Regions from separate parts of the Homo sapiens genome. Here region 2 is linked to region 1. The links are contacts of gene promoters, found by promoter capture Hi-C in blood cells and fetal thymus (Javierre and others, 2016). All regions are on one chromosome and are shown on one strand. The core of a region is centred on a gene start or on the middle of the fragment in contact, and the rest is flanking DNA. Distances in the headings are between cores, read along the strand shown. Region 1 holds the start of LYPD3 (LY6/PLAUR domain containing 3). Region 2 overlaps XRCC1 (X-ray repair cross complementing 1).

Region 1 (2,732 bases), core at 113-2,612:
TCCAGAAAGGACTATAAGGAGGCGGGGCTGGGCCGGAGGAGCCTGCAGTGGTGTGCGTGGCCCGGGGGTCCCCACTCACTGGTCTCCACCGCCCCCACGGCCTCGGTGCAGACGTCCACGCCCGGCGCGCACTTCACTGTCTTCATCTTGTTCGGGGAGCATCCGTCATCTGCTTTCTGCACGCAGCTGTAGCACTCCAGGGCCTGCGCTCCTGGGGGAGCGGAGCCGAATAGACCTGAGCCCTCCTTGCTAAAGCGTCCACCCCCAAGGAGAAATAGTCCTTCCCATGCCCTCTGTCCCGGGATTAGACAGTCTTATTGCACACACTTTTCCAGGGCAGGAGTAGGGAAAAGCTTTCCACAAATCTGGAAGCACGGGAATCACTGGACCCTTTTCCTTCACACCCACTATGCCAACTGTGGGCACATCCTTCCGACAGCCCTGTATGCCCACTGTAGGCGATCCCCGCCATGAAGCCCCTCATCCCGGGGTAGGAAGGATACCTCCTCACGGTTTTCTGCTCAGAATGAGAGAACTTTTCCCACAGTGTGTGGGAGAACTTTTCCCACAGTAGACTGTGCTCAGTGAGGGATCCCTTCCCACAGCCCCCTTCTGCTCAAATGAGAGAACACTACCCACAGCTTCTCTGCCCAGGACAGGGAACACTTTTTTCTTTTTTTCTTTTTTTCTTTTTTTTTTTTTTGAGACGGAGTCTCGCTCTGTCGCCAGGCTGGAGTGCAGTGGCGCAATCTCGGCTCACTGCAACCTCCCCTCCTGGATTCAAACGATTCTCCTGCCTCAGCCTCCCGAGTAGCTGGGACTACAGGCTCGCGCTACCGCGCCCAGCTAATTTTTGTATTTTTAGTAGAGACAGGGTTTCACCATGTTGGCCAGGCTGGTCTCGATCGTTTGACCTCATGATCCGCCTGCCTCGGCCTCCCAAAGTGCTGAGATTACAGGCATGAACCACCGCGCCCGGCCTAGGAACAGGGGACTTCTTTCTGCAGCTTCAGGATAGGAAAATTTTGCCCACAGCTCCCCTTGTCCGTGGTGGGGAACCCTTCCTACGGCCCATGGTGGAGGACCCTTCCCTCTGCCTCCCTTGCTTAGGATGGGGGAACTTTGCCCACAGTGCCCTCTGCTTATGTGGGGATCCTTCCCACAGCCTTCTCTGTACGGGGCCAGAGGAGCCTCCTCCCTAAGAGCCCCCACTCTACCCCCTCCACCTCTCCGGGCAGCAGACCCACCTCCGCGAAGCAGCAGCAGCAGCAGCCAGCCTGCAGTCCAGATCATGGCCTGGGCACCTGCTTTCCTGGCGGGGTCCATGGCTCCGTCCTGCTCCCTTGGCGTCCCCCCTGGATGTGCCGCCTCCGAGCTCGGGCCCTCTTACCTGAGCCCAGGATGAGTAACCTCGCCCCAGGCAACCCCAGCCTTGCCCAACCGGGCCAACTCAGCGTCGGCTGTGGGGCGGGGCCCCGCCCCTAGGCGCGTCATCCAAGGGAGAGCGGTCCCTGCCCTGTGAAGTTGCCAAGGAGGGAAAGGGTGGGAGCTGAGGTTCCCTGACAGCTCGCGGGAGAAAGTCTGTGTGTGTTTGGAGTGGGAGAGTAGTGGGGCTTAAAGACAGGCTGGGGCTACTCGACATTCAGTGTTCGGTAACTGTTAAATGAGCATCTACAGTGTGCCCGGCTTTGGTCTAGGTAATGCTGGAGATGAAGACAGAACCAGTGCCTGTCCTGGCAGAGCTCACAGTCTGATGGGGGAGACAGATGCTAATCAAATAATCGTACAAATTGGTGTTTACCAAAGAGACTAAGACACTGAAGGAAAAAGTGTAGTGATACAAGGAGATGTGCAGTCTAGAAGTGGGGGCTGGTCGGTGAGGGCTTCCTTGAGGTTATCTGAGATGCAACCTCAAGGGCATGCAGGATGTAGCCAGCTAGAGCAGGTCAAGAGAGGGACACAGCCCTTTACAAGCAGAGGGAACAGCACGTGGGAGCACCTGGAGGTAGGAGGTAGGATGGACCATTCAAACATGGAAAGGAGAGCAGTGCTCCTGAGCTCAGAAGTCCATGAGAGAAGGGCAGGAACTGAGATGAAAGAGTCAGGCAGAGGCCGAGACACTCAGGGCATCAGAGGCCCCGACAAGAGATTTGGATTAATTTTGAGAATAGTAGAGAACCTTTAAGAGGGTCTAAATGAGCTGGAGGACATAATAGATTTGCTTCCTAATATGATCAACCTGAGAAATAGTGCAGCTAGCCATCAAGAAGTAAATGGAGGCCGGGCGCGGTGGCTCATGCCTGTAATCCCAGCAATTTGGGAGGCCGAGCTGGGTGGATCACTTGAGATCAGGAGTTTGAGACCAGCCTGGGCAACATGGCGAAACCTCATCTCTATTAAAAAAAAATAATAAATTTAAAAAAATTAGCCAGGTGCAGTGGCGTGCACCTGCTGTCCCAGCTACTCGGAAGGGTAGGGCAGGAGAATCACTTGAGCCCAGGAGGTGGAGGTTGCAGTGAGCTGAGATCACGCCACTGCACTCCAGCCTGGGCAACAGAGTGAGACCCTGTCTCAAAAAAAAAAATTTAAAAATTTAAAAATTAAAAAAAAGTAAATGGATCTGAGAGTAGGATATATGATTTTAAAAAAGGAAAAAGAAAAAGAAGTGAATGGCAAAAGAGAGTGGTTGGTTCGGCCAATGGAATACTACACAGCAATAGAAAAGATCCAAC
Region 2 (3,011 bases), core at 178-2,677, 89 kb after region 1:
GGTAGCAGCTGCATAGCTAGGTCCTGCTGGGTCGCTGGCTGTGACTATGAAGGGAGAAAGTGGATCCAGGATGAGAGGGCTGAGCCCCAAGACCCTTTCACTCCTATCTATGGGACACAGAATATTGTTGCCAAAACCCACCAGTGATCCAGGAGTCCCAGCCTCCAGACCTCTCAACCCTCAGGACACAAGAGGCCAGGCCCACCTTCCTCCACCCTGAGACCCAGGAGTCCAGGACTCCACTACCCTCCTCCCTCAGACCCAGGAATCTGAGCCCCAGCCCCCTCTACCCTCAGACCCACGAGTCTAGGTCTCAACCCTACTCACTCAGGACCCACGTTGTCCGAGCTCACCTGGGGATGTCTTGTTGATCCGGCTGAAGAAGAGAGCCCCCGGCCTCAGAGAGTTGGCGCTCTCATCCTCCTCCTTCACACGGAACTGGCCAAGCTTGGTCACTGTCACCTTCTAAGGTCCCGCAAGGTCAGTATTATAGGTGGGCTGCTGGCAGGTGGGGGTGGAGAGGCAGGGAGAAGGCCATGGGGAGTGACAGGTACAGCTTACCTGGGACGGGGCCTCTGCCTCATCTTTGTCTGGGGGGCTATGAAACCGTACAAAACTCAAGCCAAAGGGGGAGTCCTGGGAAAGGAGGGGTGGGAGTCAGGGAGTCTGGCCCAAGGACAGAGGCCAGGGCCCAAGACCCTTTTCACTCAGGGAAACCTCTTCCTGGCTCCTTCCCTCTCATGAACACCCATGTTGAAGGAGGGGCCCTGGCGATGGTGATGACAATTATAGGATTAAGCTGTTATGACTGAGCCCTAACTCTGAGTCTGGCTCCAAGCCCTTTTCACGCATTAGCTCTTTGGGCAATTGGCAGAGTCTACTAGGTGTCCCAGCGAATTCACTGCCCTATGCACAAACTCCTGCCTGTGGAATGGGAGGGAGTGCTGCGTGCCACTTCCAGAACACAGAAGTGTTCCAGGCTCTCTCCTCTGCCAGCTGGATGCAGAGCCAGAAAATAGGAGAAGTCTGGGTCCCTGCACGACCTCATAAGGAGAAGCCAGCTGACAGGCTAAACACTCCCCAGGACAGTTACCTGGGCAAGAAGCACACCTTTAGTGTGTGGCATCATCACATACTCCAGTCTCACTGTTACCACAGCTTTTAGCATCCCTTAACCTACAGCAACCCTGTAAGGATCAGGCAATGGAGGCCCAGAGAGCGTAAGTCACTTGCCCAAGATCACACAGCTAAAAAGTGGTATAGCCAGGACGTGAACTCAGTAATCAGACGCCAGATCTCCTGATGTTAACTACTAGGCCCACTCTACTAGGCCACCTCTCTAACAAGTCAGTTCCCCTCCTCCGATTCCCCTCTGAGATGCTGCAGTTCACCCTTCCTAGATTCCTCCGGGAGATGAAACTTCTCATTACAGGAAAGATCCCAAACCCATTTCAGGGAACGCAGGGACCCAGCCTCCCCATAATCCCATGGGACACCAGCTGTCTACTCCTCCCAGCCCTATGGGACTCAATATTGGCCCTTATTTCCCTCCTTGCCCAGGACCAAGGACTCTGCACCCTGGCTCCCACCCTAGGTACCTTGCTGTAGGGCTGGCTGCAAACAATTTTGACCCGGTCCCAGCGCTTCTCGGCGGCTGCCCGGACCAGCTTGTCAGGCCCAAACATGCGAACGCGGTTGGGGTTTGAGCCACTGCGGCTCTCGGAAGGGGACATGAAAGATGAGGTGACCAGAAGGACCTGGGTGGGAGAAGCCACAGTGCATGAGAACCAGGGCAGGTTGGCTTAGATGAGAGCTTCTAGGGGCTGGGGAAGAGGGCACAGGGCCCACACAGGGGACTGGGAGTCACTAGAATGTAGCTTGGGCCTAGATGTCTCCAGACCCTTTGTTTCTAGGCCTTGAGTCAGTCCTGCCCTGACACAGGCCCCAGAGGGATCTCTTTATCCTCCAGATGTGAGCGACCCTTATCTAAATTCTCCCATGGAGTCTTCCATATCTGGCAATACAGCGGGCTACATGTCCTAAGGAACTTTCCCGGCAGAGAATATTCAGTAAACTGGCACAATATTCAAACACCTTTTGGAAATGCACAGGTGAGTCAGCGGAAAGGCAAGGGGAATTACTAGAGGCTGGAAATGAGAAAACAGAATCCAGAGAGTCAGGCGAGCTGCACTAAGTATTAAGTGATTGTTTCTCAGCTCAAACCTACCCTCTACAACTCATCTCTGTGATCTGGGCCCGCACTTGGCAAACCACCTTTCTGCTTCCCTAGCTGATCGTGACCAGGCTCTGCCAATAGGGGGGGCAAGAGAGAGAGTTTGCAAGGCTGCAGGAGGGAGGAAGGACCAGCTTCTCGTGCATTGCAGATCCTGTGAGCATCACCCCCAGTTAAGCTTCTGCTGCTGCAGTGGTTCCTGCCTGCAGCAGCAGATGAATCCAGTTTGCAGTGTCCCAATACCTCCAGAAACAGCCTCATTCAGCCCCTCTCAGCAGCCGGTGGGGGAGGAAGCCCTCCTCAAACGATCTGAATTTCAGCTCCTGGAGCCCCACCTCCCAGTTTCCAAACATCTACGTTTCAATAATTCCTGCTCCTTTCTTTTGTTCCCCCAACCCTGGGAGTGGTAGCTACTCCCTGCGGTTGCTTCTCCCTCATATCTTAGTCTTCTAGTAACACCTAGTTACTGGTTCTTTCTATCAAATTATCTGTTAAAATAACTGGTGTGGTTTTAATCTCCGGGCAAGGACCCTGACTGACCCGGCAGCACTCATGTTGGTAGTTTGTCATGGTGCTGATCCCAGATAGCAAATAACTTGATTTTATTTATTATTATTATTTTTTTAAGAGACAGGGTCTTTCTCTGTCACCCAGGCTGGAGCACAGTGGTGCGATCATAGCTCACTGCAGCCTCGACCTCTGGGTCTCAAGTGATTCTCCCACCTTGGCCTCTGAGTAGCTGGGTCTAGAGATGCACGACACCACACCTGGCTAATTT

Evidence for each region. Contacts are between HindIII fragments. The CHiCAGO score rates a contact against its expected background, and 5 or more counts as called.
Region 2: a contact is called between a fragment that was not itself captured here and the fragment with the promoter of LYPD3 in region 1, in 5 of 17 cell types (naive CD4 T cells, total CD8 T cells, fetal thymus and 2 more). The highest score is 7.7, in naive CD4 T cells.

Annotation. Positions count from the first base shown.
Region 1 is chr19:43,464,246-43,466,977 of GRCh38, forward strand. LYPD3 (LY6/PLAUR domain containing 3) reads right to left here and starts at 1,363. Exons shown (of 5, transcript NM_014400.3): 1 at 1,248-1,363; 2 at 80-211. The coding sequence starts at 1,326. RefSeq lists an enhancer at 1-115. The HindIII fragment of the contact is 14,493 bases long and covers 352-2,732 here.
Region 2 is chr19:43,553,048-43,556,058 of GRCh38, forward strand. XRCC1 (X-ray repair cross complementing 1) reads right to left here. Exons shown (of 17, transcript NM_006297.3): 4 at 1,599-1,757; 5 at 562-636; 6 at 354-465; 7 at 1-44. Among named protein-coding and RNA genes, the nearest start is that of XRCC1, 21 kb to the right of the region's middle. The HindIII fragment of the contact is 1,964 bases long and covers 446-2,409 here.